2 separate regions of the Homo sapiens genome follow, and region 2 is linked to region 1. The links are contacts of gene promoters, found by promoter capture Hi-C in blood cells and fetal thymus (Javierre and others, 2016). All regions are on one chromosome and are shown on one strand. The core of a region is centred on a gene start or on the middle of the fragment in contact, and the rest is flanking DNA. Distances in the headings are between cores, read along the strand shown. Region 1 holds the start of THEM4 (thioesterase superfamily member 4). Region 2 has its middle 43 kb from the start of CRNN.

Region 1 (6,590 bases), core at 1,706-4,205:
GCAGCCCCAGTGCGAGATCCACTGGGTGAAGCCAGCTGGGCTCCTGAGTCTAGTGGGAACTTGGAGAACCTTTATGTCTAGCTAAAGGACTGTAAATACACCAATCGGCACTCTGTATCTAGCTCAAGGTTTATAAACACACCAATCAGCACCCTATGTCTAGCTCAGGGGTTGTGAATGCACCAATCGACACTCTGTATCTAGCTACTCTGGTGGGGACTGGGAGAACCTTTGTGTTGACACTCTGTATCTAGCTAATCTGGTGTGGACGTGGAGAACCTTTGTGTCTAGCTCAGGGATTGTAAATGCACCAATCAGGGCCCTGTCAAAACAGACCACTTGGCTCTACCAATCAGCAGGATGTGGGTGGGGCCAGATAAGAGAATAAAAGCAGGCTGCCCAAGCCAGCAGTGGCAACCCGCTCGGGTCCCCTTCCACACTGTGGAAGCTTTGTTCTTTCGCTCTTTGCAATAAATCTTGCTGCTGCTCACTCTTTGGGTCCACACTGCCTTTATGAGCTGTAACACTCACCGCGAAGGTCTGCAGCTTCACTCCTGAAGCCAACGAGACCACAAACCCACCGGGAGGAACGAACAACTCCAGACGTGCTGCCTTAAGAGCTATAACACTCACCACGAAGGTCCGCAATTTCACTCTTGAGCCAGCAAGACCATGAACCCACCAGAAGGAAGAAACTCTGAACACATCCGAACATCAGAAGGAACAAACGCCGGACATGCCGCCTTTAAGAACTATAACACTCACCACGAGGGTCCGTGGCTTCTTTCTTGAAGTCAGTGAGACCAAGAACCCATCAATTCCGACACAGTATGTAATCCTGAATTATGCACCTGTCACAATTTGATGAATTAATTGCCTTTGTGCTGCCTCTGTATCCTTGCTTTCACGCCACTATGCTTCACGCCACTGTAAGCTTGTTTCAAGCTAGCCCACCCCCTTTTAAAAGTGTGTATTAAAGTCAAGTGCTGTCTTTGTTCTGGGCCCAGCTTTTGGATGTTAGTCCGCTGGGTCTGAGTGCACTCAATAAAGTTCTCCTGTCTCACCCCATGGCCTCTCCAGTCCTCCTTCATTCCTGCAACAGAAGGATGAGTGAAATGGGGACTCAAAACCTCTCACTTTCATTTCTGAGCCTTTTGGTCTTATGGCATTCCTCTTCTTTTTGGGGGGACAGCAACGGCACCTATTTTTCTTTTTACGATACTGGAGGTGGTCCACACCCACCCCAATGGTCACCAGTGCACTCACAAGACAGTTGGGTGGGGTAGCTCCCTGGCCCCACTTCTTTACTGGCTGGGGTGCATGGTGGTGTCTGCAGCATGTGTGTGTGGTGTCCAGTAGCCACACAGGGCATAAATGAGCCACAGCCACTGCCCAGGCTCCAAGGCGCCGGCATGGCTGGCTGGCGTTCCCTACCAGGTGCCTGCAGTCTCCCCCTCCCCATTCCAGGGAGTCTAGCTCTGTCCCACAGCAATTAAGCTCCTCTCTCTGGTGGAGGAACCATTTGCATAGGAATAAGAGGTTCTTCCCCCAGGCATCCTTATCTCCTCTCCAACCCATCAGCAGTATACTTTTAAAGGAGGTTTTTCTTTTCCTTTTGGAAGACGTTTTGCTCTTTTGGGAATGATGAGGATTACCGTTTATATTTTCTGTAAAGTTTTGTGCGAAAGGATTTGTGAGGTAAGTCGTAAGCTGTAGCCAATCTGTGTGTTTTGCATGTCTTTCTGTATGCTCCACAGCAAACTTCGCTGCAGGCCTCCATCTTGTTTTACGTCCTTGGGGGCGTGGCCTGTAACCCCATTGCATAGCTTCGTTTAGCCCGGCATGGCCCAGATTCATCCTGGCTTAGGGAATGAGTCCTTTCTGGTTTGGTATCTGTATGCCCTTTCGCTATTTGTCGATTCCCCTGCCCTCCACCAACCACCTTGGATTTTCCTTTCTCTGAGCCTTTAAGTAAAGTTTGAAAGCCAGAAATATTGGCCGCTTGGTGGAGCTAAAGTTAGATAATAAGGGTGTTAAAAGAATTTTCTTAAGGAGTGCTCAGCTTAATTAAAAGTAGATATCTAAGTTGTAATTATATTTATAAGGCCTTTATGTTTTCCTTTTCTTGGACCTTATTTTGCTGGAAAAAGTGTTTCTTTGCGGTCGACTGAGTTATTTTTCTCCATTTTGCCTTGCCACTTTTAATGCCTGCATAAGAGGGGCGATCTCTGTTTTCCTCATGGAACCCCAGGAATTAAAAGCAGATAGATCCCTCTCCCTGTGATGAAAGATCTTATGGCAACTGGGTTTTCTTCTGCCTGTCTGTGTAGTTATATATGTGTTGTGTGTGATGTCTATAAAAAGATCTCTAATTAATTGACCTAAAGGAAGATAAGCGTTTGGATCAAATATTTTTTTAAAGGGAAGATAAAAGCTGTGGTATCTTTTAGTTCACGTCACTTTAATCTTTGAAAAATAAAAACAGCCTCAAATATTATTGGTAAAATACAGATGTTGTCAAAATATAAATAGACAGACTAAATTATGCAGTTCAGGTAGCGCCCTGCCGACCCTGTCTCTTAAAAAACAAAAAAACGGGGTCACCTTTCCATCCCTTTTCTAACGGTTTGAATCTCAGGACTGTATTCCTAGGCCCCTGTTGCTTATGCTGCCCTGTGGTGCCCAGGTGAGCTTTTATTCTGAGATTGGCTGGTTGGGGTATGGATAACAATCGAAGGCTCTGTTACCGCAGGCGTGTTTCTGAGTCCTGCTCCCGCCCCATGCCCGAGGGTGCCCAGACTCACCAGCTCGGGTCGCGGCTCGCTTCCCGGCAGGCGCCGGCCTACTGGCGGCAGGCACAGAGCCCCCAGCGTGCGGAGGCGCGCGGCGCAGCTCCTCAGCATGGCTCCGGGCCGCGGGGCCGCGCTTGCTCTAGCCCTGGACGGCGCACTCTACCTCCGCCACAAGAGCGCGCGTGCGAGTTAACCCCTGGGGTGGACGCAGGGCGGGGCTTGGGGAGGAGGCGGTGCGCACTACTGGCGGCTGGCTGGCCGGGGTGTGAGGCCGGCGGGGTCCGGGTAGGGCATCGCTGTTGAGTCTATCTTCTGGTTCCGGCCTTTTCTTTCCGAAGACCTCCCGCTGCGGCCAACAGCCGGGCCACTTCCGGGGCTTCTCAAAGGCAAGAGGAGCGCGGCCGGAGCGGATCCCGGTTATCGCCTTGGGCCCCTCAGCCCCTCAGCCCCGGAACCCGCGCGCCGACTGGAGGCTTTGCGGTCATCCTTCCCACATGACCCAGGGCGTACGCAGTGCTCCGTGTCCCCAAGTAGTTATCCCTCCCCCGGAAGACTGAAGTCCCTGGGGCGGGTAGGAGCGCACGCTAGGAGTAGTATGAATAAAGTGTTTTCTTGGAGGTCATGGGCAAGTCTCTGGACAGGGTTGATAGTGCTGATTTATAGAGGGCAGTCTGGGCACAAAGAGCATTTATACGATCGAAAAGCTGCTTTCCCTGCCAACAGCCCCATACCCTCCCCAGGAGCGCGCTTACGCCTTAAAAGACTCTTTTGTTATGTAAACTGACAGTTAAATTAAACGAAGGTAATGGATACTAAAGGCGTAACAGGTATTGTAACTATTTTACTGTTATCGATGCTTTTGAGGTTACTTACCTCGCTTGTATTCGTATGGTGGGAATACTAGGCGCATACCTTCTGAGCTTCGAATTCAGTAACCTCACTGGGACCTTGAAATCGGACTGGGTTGGAGTATTCCCATTACTCAGATAATGCAAATCCGGGCCATCATACCCCTTTATTTTTAAATGCTTACCAGTATGCCATAGCCCTAGTCCATCCTAAGGTGAAGACTCTAATGGGTTTTTTTTGAGACAGAGTCTCGCAGAGATACTGCTATTGCACTTCAGCCTGGGCAACATACTGATGCCCCATCTCAAAAAAGCAATAAATTAAAAAGAAAACTCGAATGACCTGAATGCATTAGATATTTTGCCTTGATTCCTTTCCCATGAACAACTCCAGCAGTTTGTCAGTAGGTAAGAACACCTAGATACATTTTAAGCCTACACTATTAACTGGGGGAAGGTGTAACATTCTGAGAGAAAGGGAATTGGGGAGAGAAGGCAATGCAGTTAGGAGGGGCCCCTTGGAATCCTAGAGCTACTGAACCGAAGATCAGGCATAAAGGATGGTTGTTGAGATTCTGTAATTCTAAGAGGTTGTATTCTGATATCTCCTAAGCACCCCCCCCAACCTCCCACATTCCCTTTATCTCAGTTGTCTTCCTTTTTAATATATTAATAGTATTGCAGTTTCCTGGTGGCAGGGATGGGGTCAGATTGCCTTATTAATTGTAACAACGTGCACGTAGTGCTTGAATACTTACTTAGCAGCAAGAATCCAAAGTATCTTTGGTGTCTGTTGTCTTCCCATGTTGTGCGTGCAGATGGAGGCACGAGCATAACGTAAATCTCTAAAATTGAGATGACTACTGTTAATGAATAGAAAAGTTTATTCAGGTAACTTAAAATTGCATCTATTTACAATTTACAGTGTAGTCAAATCAATCAATACCTATAGACTTCAACCCTGCTAAGATTGTCTATATGATTAATGTACCAATAGCTCACCTAACAGCTTCCTTTTGTTTTTTTGAGATGGAGTCTCACTCTGTTGCCCAGGCTGGAAGTGCAGTGGCATGATCTTGGCTCACTGCAACCTCTGCCTCCAGGGTTCAAGCGATTCTCCCTGCCTCAACCTCCCGAGTAGGTGGGATTACAGGCGCGTGCCACCACATCTGGCTAATTTTTATATTTTTGGTAGAGACGGGGTTTCACCCTGTTGGCCAGGCTGGTCTTGAACTCCTGACCTCAAGTGATCTGCCTGCCTCCCAAAGTGCTGGGATTACCAGCATGAGCCACTGCACTCGGCACCTATCAGCTTCTTAAAAGACCTTAGACTTAGGGCAATTAGAGGTCAGTTACACTGAGTTTAAACTTCATTAAATTTTAACTCTAAATTTTTCAAGTAGCGGCAGTGCATTTAGTTAAGTCATCCACACTCTTGCATGGCTTACTCTGGGATATTCGTGTTGACAGCACATATAAAATGTCTGGTCAGATTTGGAAGAGGAAGGGCAGGTTACAGTCTAGAAATAGGATTGATAGGCTATGGAAGTGAAGGAGTTTGAAGCTTGTATGGTTTAGGCAAGGAACAAATGTTCAATCTTGATAGAACTAGGCTTCGAATAAGCCAATGGTATGAAACTTAATAGTCTTCTCACCATTCTTTAATTTTGTAGACAGCTTTATTGAGGTGTAGTTGCCATAGGATGGGCACCGTGGCTCATACCTGTAATTCCAGCACTTTGGGAGGCTGAGGTGGGTGGATCACCTGAGGTCAGGAGTTTGAGACCAGCCAGGCCAACATGGTGAAACCCCGTCTCTGCTAAAAATACAAAAATTAAGGCCGGGCGCAGTGGCTCACTCCTATAATCCCAGCACTTTGTGAGGCTGCAGCGGGCAGATCACGAGGTCAGAAGATTGAGACCGTCCTGGCTAACACGGTGAAACCCTGTCTCTACTAAAAATACCAAAAATTAACCGGGCGTGGTGGCGGGCGCCTGTAGTCCCAGCTACTCGGGAGTCTGAGGCAGGAGAATGGCGTGAACGTGGGAGGCGGAGCTTGCAGTGAGCCAAGATCGCGCCACTGCACTCCAGCCTGGGCGACAGAGTAAGACTGAGTCTCAAAAAAAAAAAAAAAAAAAAAGTTAGCCAGGTGTGGTGGCGCATGCCTGTAATCCCAGCTACTTGAGAGGCTGAGGCAGGAGAATCGCTTGAACCTGTCAGGTGGAGGTTGCAGAGAGCCGAGATCGCGCCATTGTACTCCAGCCTGGGCAACAAGAACGAAACTCCATCTCAAAAAAAAAAAAAAAAAAAAAGCCAGAGGCAGTGGCTCATGCCTGTAATCCCAACACTTTAGGAGGCTGTGGCAGGCGGATCACAAGGTCAGGAGTTCGAGACCAGCCTGACCAACATGATGAAACCCCGTCTTTACTAAAAATACAAAAATTAGCTGGGCATGGTGGCGTGCACCTGTAATCCCGGCTACTCGGGAGGCTGAGGCAGGAGAATTGCTTGAACCCGGGAGGCGGAAGTTGCAGTGAGCCAGGATTGCACCACTGCACTCCAGCCTGGGTGACAGAATGAGACTCCGTCTCAAAAAAAAAAAAAAAAAAAAAAAAGAGATAGTTGACATAAACTGAACATATTTAAAGTATACAATTGGATGTTTTCATACAAGTTTACACTCATGCAAACATCACCATAATCAAGATAATGAGCCACAAAATATTACCCACAAATTTGCTCATGCCCTTTTGTAAATCCTCCCTTCTATCGTACAGTACTTTCTGTCACTGTAGATTAATTTCCATTTTCTAGAGTTTTATATAAATGGAATTATATAGTATGTACTTTTTGTGGTCTGGATTTTTTTAATTCACTATAACTATTTTGAGATTCATCCATGTTTTGCTTATGTCGAGAATTTATTTTTTAAAATTGCTGAGTAGTATTC
Region 2 (6,790 bases), core at 3,893-6,392, 550 kb after region 1:
TTATTTCTGGGCTCTCTATTCTGTTCCTTTGGTCTATGTGTCTATTTTTACCTGTACCATGTTGTTTTGGTTACTGTAGCCTTATAGTACAGTTTGAAGTCAGATAATATGATTCCTCCAGGTTTCTTCTTTCTGCCTAGGATTGTTTTGGCTATTTGGGCTTTTTTTTTTTTTGTTTTACATGAATTTTAGAATTTTTTTTCTAATTCTGACCCTGGTAGTTTGATAGGAATAGCATTGAATCTGTAAATTGCTTTGGGCAGTATGGCCATTTTAACAATATTGATTCTTCCTATCCATGAGCATGAAATGTTTTTCCATTTGTTTGTGTCATGTCTGATTTCTTTCAGCAGTGTTTCCTAACTCTCATTGTAGAGGTCTTGCACCTCTGTTTAGCTGTATTTGTAGGTGTTTTTTTGTTTTGCTTTGTTTTGTGTGTGTGTGGCTATTGTGAATGGGATTTGTGTTCTTGATTTGGCATTCAGCTTGGACATTATTGGTGTATAGAAATGCTACTGATTTTTGTGTACTGATTTTGTATCTAGAAGCTTTGCTGAAGTTGTTTATCAGATCTAGCTTTTGGGCTGTGACTATGGGATTTTCTAGGTATAAAATTATATCACCTGCAGAGATAGTCTGACCTCCTGTCTTCCTATTTGGATGCCTTTTATTTCTTTCTCTTGCCTGCTTGCTCTGGTTAGGACTTCCTCTCTTTATTATGTATTATATTTTCCTTCTTTTCATGCCTGGTAATTTTTTATGGATACCACACATTGTGAATTTTACCATTTGAATGGCTGGATATATTTTTGTTTCTATAAATAAGAAACAAAAGTTAAGTTACTTGGAAACAGTTTGGTCCTTCAAATTTTGCTTTTTAAGATATGATGGGTGGCACCAGAGCAGTGTTTAGTTTAGGACCAATTTTACTACACCACTGAGGCAAAACCTTTCTGAGTACTCTACCCAGTATCCAATAAATTATGATGTTTTCTACTCTAGCTGTTAGGAACAGGGGTTCTTCCTAACTCGGGGTGATCCTGGGATTATTCGCTTTCATTCCTGCAGGGAGGTCCATCCTCTGCCTCAGGTAGTTTCCTCACATACAGGTGCTGATCATAACTCAGCTAAGGATCTGAGGGGAGGCTGTTCCTGATTGTCAGGGCTCCCCTGCCCCCTTCTCTCTCTAGCTCTTGCCTTGCTAGGTGAAGGGGTGGCCTGCCCCTCCACACCTGTGGGTGTTTCTCGTCTGGTGGGACGAGAGACTGAGAAAAGAAAGAGACACAGAGACAAAGCATAGAGAAAGAAAAGTGGGCCCAGGGGACCGGGCGCTCAGTATACGGAGGACCCGCGCCGGCACTGGTCTCTGAGTTCCCTCAGTATTTATTGATCATTATCTCTACCATCTCAGAGAGGGGGATGTGGCAGGACAATAGGGTAATAGTGGGGAGAAGGTCAGCAGGAAAACATGTGACAAATGTCTCTGTGTCATAAACAAGGTTAAGAAAAAGGTGCTGTGCTTTGATGTGCCAATACATAAACATCTTGGTGCATTAAAGAGCAGTATTGCCACCAGCATGTCTCACCTCCAGCCATAAGGTGGTTTTCTCCTGTCTCAGTAGATGGAACATACAATTGGGTTTTACACCGAGACATTCCATTGCCCAGGGATGAGCAGGAGACAGATGCCTTCCTCAGAGTTATCTCAACTGCAAAGAGGCCTTCCTCTTTTACTAATCCTCCTCAGCACAGACCCTTTACGGGTGTTGGGCTGGGGGATGGTTAGGTCTTTCCCCTCCCATGAGGCCATATCCCAGGCTATCACTTGGGGAGAAACCTTGGACAATATGTGGCTTTCCTAGGCAGAGGTCCCTGCGGCCTTCCGCAGTGTATTGTGTCCCTGGGTACTTGAGATTAGAGAGTAGTGATGACTTTTAACAAGCATACTGCCTTCAAGCACTTGTTTAACAAAGCACATCCTGCATAGCCCTAAATCCATTAAACCTTGAGTTAACACATCACAGGTCTCTGCAAGCACAGGGTTGGGGCTAGGGTTACAGATTAACAGCATCTCAAGGCAGAAGAATTTTTCTTAGTACACAACAAAATGGAGTCTCTTATGTCTACTTCTTTCTACATAGACACAGTAACAGTCTGATCTCTCTTTCTTTTCCCCACAGCTAGGCTAGTAGTCTGTCTTGAAAACTCTAGCTGCCTTGGTCTTTTAGGATCCAGTTCCATTTATTCAATCCTGAGAGTCCACTGGACTCTGCCAGTTTCCGCTCCCTGAGTCACAGCCTGGAAACCCTTTGCCGGGAGGAGGCCAGGACAGTCCTAGGGTTCAGCTCATTTTGTTTCATCTTGCAAACATCATGGTCCTGCATTGCTTCAGGTTCATGGTCTTGAAAACTATTGTTCTTTTTATATAGCCATTCCTTGGTATTCACGAGGGATTTGTTCCAAGACCCTTGAAGATGCCAAAATCTGGAGATGCTCAAATCCCTCACGTAAAATGGCAAGATATTTGCATATAACCTATGCACATCCTCCTGTAGACATGAAAACATCTCTAGATTACTTATAATACCTAATATAATGTAAATGCTATGTAAATGGTTGTTATACTGTATTTTTAAATTGTATTTTTATTGTATTTTTTCAAATGTTTTTGATCCATGGTTGGTTGAATCCATGGATGTAGAAGTCAAGTATAAGGAAGGCCAACTATAGCTTGTCAGATTATGTAGTTGTTTCAGGTTACAGGATAAATCCATCCCTGTAACTCCATTCCCATTGGAAGAGGAAATTTCCACTTTATATTTTTGCTAGCATAATACCATTTTTTCTGGTATTTTTCAAAATCACAACCTAACATTGTAATTCTAAAGTATTTAGAGTTATACATCTGTTTAAAATTTCAAATTGGATGAACATGCAATCTCCCCACTAAGACAGGCATTTGCCTTTGTCTGGGTGAGGCTGACCATTGTCTTTTGTGTTTAGCAGTTCCTTATAATCCCTCCATAACCAGCCTGGGTCTCTCTCCACTTCCAGAAGCCTTGACAGACTGTTTTAGAACTGGAGAGATGAGGAGTGGGGGTGAGATGCTAAGAACACACAGGAGAGGGTATGGCAGGAAGGAGGACAAAAGGGCAGGAGTTCCTAGGGCCAAGTCCCACCACTCTTCACCCCCAGCCTGACCACCTCCCTCCCCTCCGGGGCACACATCTCTCTGCTCCTCTTTACAGAGCCTCTTTATTTAACATGTCATGTGGTTCTGGTATCACAGTCACTACTCTTGTTGTGTGGAAGGGCAGAATCTCAGGGGCCCAGGACAGAATAGAAGACTGTTGGTGAGGCAGGACTTAGTCCCTTAGGGAGTTACCAGGCCAGCCCTGCCCCATGCTGTGGCAATCACAGGAGTGTGTGATACAGAGTGCTTGGAGAATAGGACCAGACCACACTTGACAAAATGGTGCCTATGGGGGTGCAACAATAACATGGCATTTTAGGAAGAGGTGGACAGGACAATGAGTTGCTTTGGGGGCTTTGGTCTTGTACACCATGCCTAGGTTCTGAGAGGGCAACTGTACCTTGCAGAATGACTGCCATCTGCCAGGCACAGTGCTAGGCTTTTTACAACCATTACGCCAGTCATTCCTTATGTCAACCTTATGTGGTGTGCATTGTCCTTTTACATTTCACATCTGAAGACAATTAGACTCAAAGGGTTTCAGATAGTTACTCGATGGGACTGGCACTCCAGAGTCTGCGAGGGCAGAGAAGTTTGCTGGGAGACTGAGAGAGTGCTCATGGGATATTGTGGTATGGGAGGAGCTGGAGCCCTATGTTCTTGGCTGGACAAAGCCCTGTTGTGCTCATTTTGGAGATGGCAGGTGGGACCAATCCCATCACAGCAGCTGCCTCAGCAGGGAGATGCCCTGCAAGGGTGAGGTGTGGCCTAGGCAAGGTGTAGGAACTGGAAACTGAGGTAGGGCTGGAGGGGGGGAATATAACAAGAGTGAAAACAGTGCTTGAGGGCAAAAATGTGATGGGGAAAGTAAAAAAAAAGACCTGGAGTCTACACTGAAATTGAGTGGGGGTGAAGAAGTGAAATATTATTTTGGACCATATGAAATTGTTGTTTTGTAGGTAAAATGGTGGATTATGAACAATTTTATGTGTTCAACCTAATGTAAGCTTACTGTGGGTAAGCACCAAATATTAAGTATAGCCCATGGAATGCAGGGTGGTCTAAAGGTGAGTGGCACTGGATCTCAGCATTTGGAATGCCTACCTGTCCCCATATGTATCATCAGAAGGCACCTGTTAAAATATACACGTTACCTAGAAGTAGCAAATATTACCTAGCAACATCCTGGCACAACTGGCTTTATTAAACCAAGTTGTCACTTACTATGACAACAGCTATATAAAGTGACTGAAAAGAAAATTGGAATTTTGATTGAAAGATCATTTTGACTAGGTAGAGCCTGAGATAGGGGAGCTGCTTGGCAGACTGTGAGCAGCACTTGGCACAAGGTGGGGGGGTTTTGATAGAAGGCATTGAGAGAGAGGAAGCCGAGGTCTGGACCCAAAAGACTTGCTGACTGGCTGTGCCCATAAGCTTCCCTGCGCTGACTGCTGTCAGCCAACAATTAGGATTTCCGTGGTGCTCTGGCTCCCTCTTCAGGGAAACTCCTGAAATGCATCGCCATGTCTCAAGAAGATGGAGCTCCAGCGAAGTTTCAGAGATGGAAGACGGAACGGTAAGGGAACTAGTATTTCTCAAATTCACACTGTGTGTAGGCAGTCTGCTGAAAAGTGGCCACTAATATTGCCATGTATAGAAGTGTAAACTCAGATAATTTACGTGATTTGTCCAAGGTCATAACTCAATGGTGGTAGAGCTGGGATTCAACTTCAGGTTAGCCTGACTCCAAAAGACAAAGGTTGACCGTGGGCATCTCCAGGGAAGGGAGCAACTTCTATTGATTTTTGAATCCAGAGCAACTTCCATTGATTTCTGAAGCTCCAGAGTATAGTTGGGTGCAACAAATGTGAATCCCCAAAGACACAGGGCCCCGCTTAAGACCCCACACGTGGTTTTCCTCCCAGAGTCAAAACCCAGCAAGTTTGTGCCCCTCTAACAGCAGTATGAATCTTGGGCCCCAAGGCTGTGTCTGGGGCAGCCCTTCATCTCTAACTTCTGAGTATTCTTGGCAACCACCTGGAACACAGTTTTCCATGGTGCAGTGCTTCCTCCTCCACCTGCCCTTTCACATAAGGGATCGCCTTTGACCTTAACACCTGCTCTCTCTGTTTGACAGATGATATTTGATTTTTGAAGATGGAAGAGCATCTATCCATGCATCCATTCATTCATAAAACTGATAAGTATTTGTTGAGTGTCTACGATGTCCAGTCAGTGTTATTGACTCTAGAGATACAGCAGTAAACAGAATAGATAAAAGCTGGGATATGTGGGTGGGAGTAGTAGGCAGTAAACAATAACCCTAATAAATATGTAAATTATACAACATGTTAGAAGGCGGTAACCACTATAGAAATAGAGCTGAATAAGGAATGAGAGTGCAAGTGGCAAGGATAAAGGGTAAGTTGTAATTTAAATGGACTGGTCAGCTCTGCTTTATTAAGAAGCTTACTTTTGAAAGAAATATAGGGAGGGAGCCAAGCAGATATCTTGGGTAAGAAGATTCCAGGTAGAGGGAAAAGCCAATGCAAATGTCCTAAGGTGAAATCATTCCTGATCTACACAAGATACAGCAAAGAGGCCAGTGTGGCTGGAAGGGAGTGAGAGAGGAGAGTAATGGGGTTGAGCTACCTCTACTGACTGAGTATATATTATATGCTGGGCACCACTAGGCACTTAAACATGCTGATCATGTCAACTCCTCTGGGAGTGTGTTATGGACCAATTTAGAAGTTGAGAAATAGTGGTTTGGTGAGAGTGGGTAACTCACACATGGCCACAGAGCCAGCAAAGCAGATGTTCTGGCTCCAGAGCCCCGTTCTCTCCTCTGCACCCCATTGCCTTCATTCGGCCGAGTGGCCCTGCCTGCAGCAGCTGCCATGCTCTGAGCTGGCCTCCTGGTGTCAGTGAGCCCCAGCTCAGTGGCCGAGGAGGGCCCCAGGAGTCACAGGCTCTCACTGATCCCCACCACACCGAGGCTGCTTCCTTGTACCCCTGGTTTTAGGTCCAGCGTCCTCACCACTCTGAAATCAATTACTATTTTTACTTCTCTTTTTTTTTTTGGCATTAAGTAGACTTTTGGTTTTTAAATTATCTGAAAGTAAAAGCACAGAAGTGACATTCTTCTTGAAAGTGAAAGCAAGTGTGGAACATTTTTAACCATGCTGTTTCCTATCTGTTCTAGTTTCTGTAGGTAGTGGGTTCAGAGTAGCTCAGAGTATAAGGTGTGGGATGTGTGTGGGGGTGAGGGTTGGCCCAGGTGGACATCAGCATTTGACTCCTTCCTGGTTGCTGTAATTTGGGAGGGACTAACCAGGCTGCTAGATGTGCAGAAGGGTGGGCGCCACCTGCTGGTTGTGTGCATAAACCGCCTTTTCACCCAGTCAATCTTCATTCTTCTTTACTTGGAAATGGCAAATGAAGCCTTTCTATACGTGACTCTAGCAAATTAATTATTTCAGTCTTCCCGAAACACTTTATGTATATAATACCTCATGGTAGCATCATGCAAATGTCCCTTTGCCTTTGCTTGTGCTGGTATACCTTACGAAAAACAATCTGTACATCCAAGATGTC

The links. Contacts are between HindIII fragments. The CHiCAGO score rates a contact against its expected background, and 5 or more counts as called.
Region 2: a fragment that was not itself captured here is called in contact with the fragment with the promoter of THEM4 in region 1 in 3 of 17 cell types (naive CD8 T cells, total B cells and activated CD4 T cells); the score reaches 6.4 in naive CD8 T cells.

What each region holds. Positions count from the first base shown.
Region 1 is chr1:151,906,556-151,913,145 of GRCh38, forward strand. THEM4 (thioesterase superfamily member 4) reads right to left here and starts at 2,956. Exons shown (of 6, transcript NM_053055.5): 1 at 2,805-2,956. The coding sequence starts at 2,903. RefSeq lists enhancers at 1-241, 3,233-3,352, 3,341-3,928 and a silencer at 2,683-2,992. The HindIII fragment of the contact is 4,270 bases long and covers 933-5,202 here.
Region 2 is chr1:152,453,903-152,460,692 of GRCh38, forward strand. No RefSeq gene overlaps it. Among named protein-coding and RNA genes, the nearest start is that of CRNN, 43 kb to the left of the region's middle. RefSeq lists enhancers at 4,616-4,685, 6,604-6,663. The HindIII fragment of the contact is 1,034 bases long and covers 4,626-5,659 here.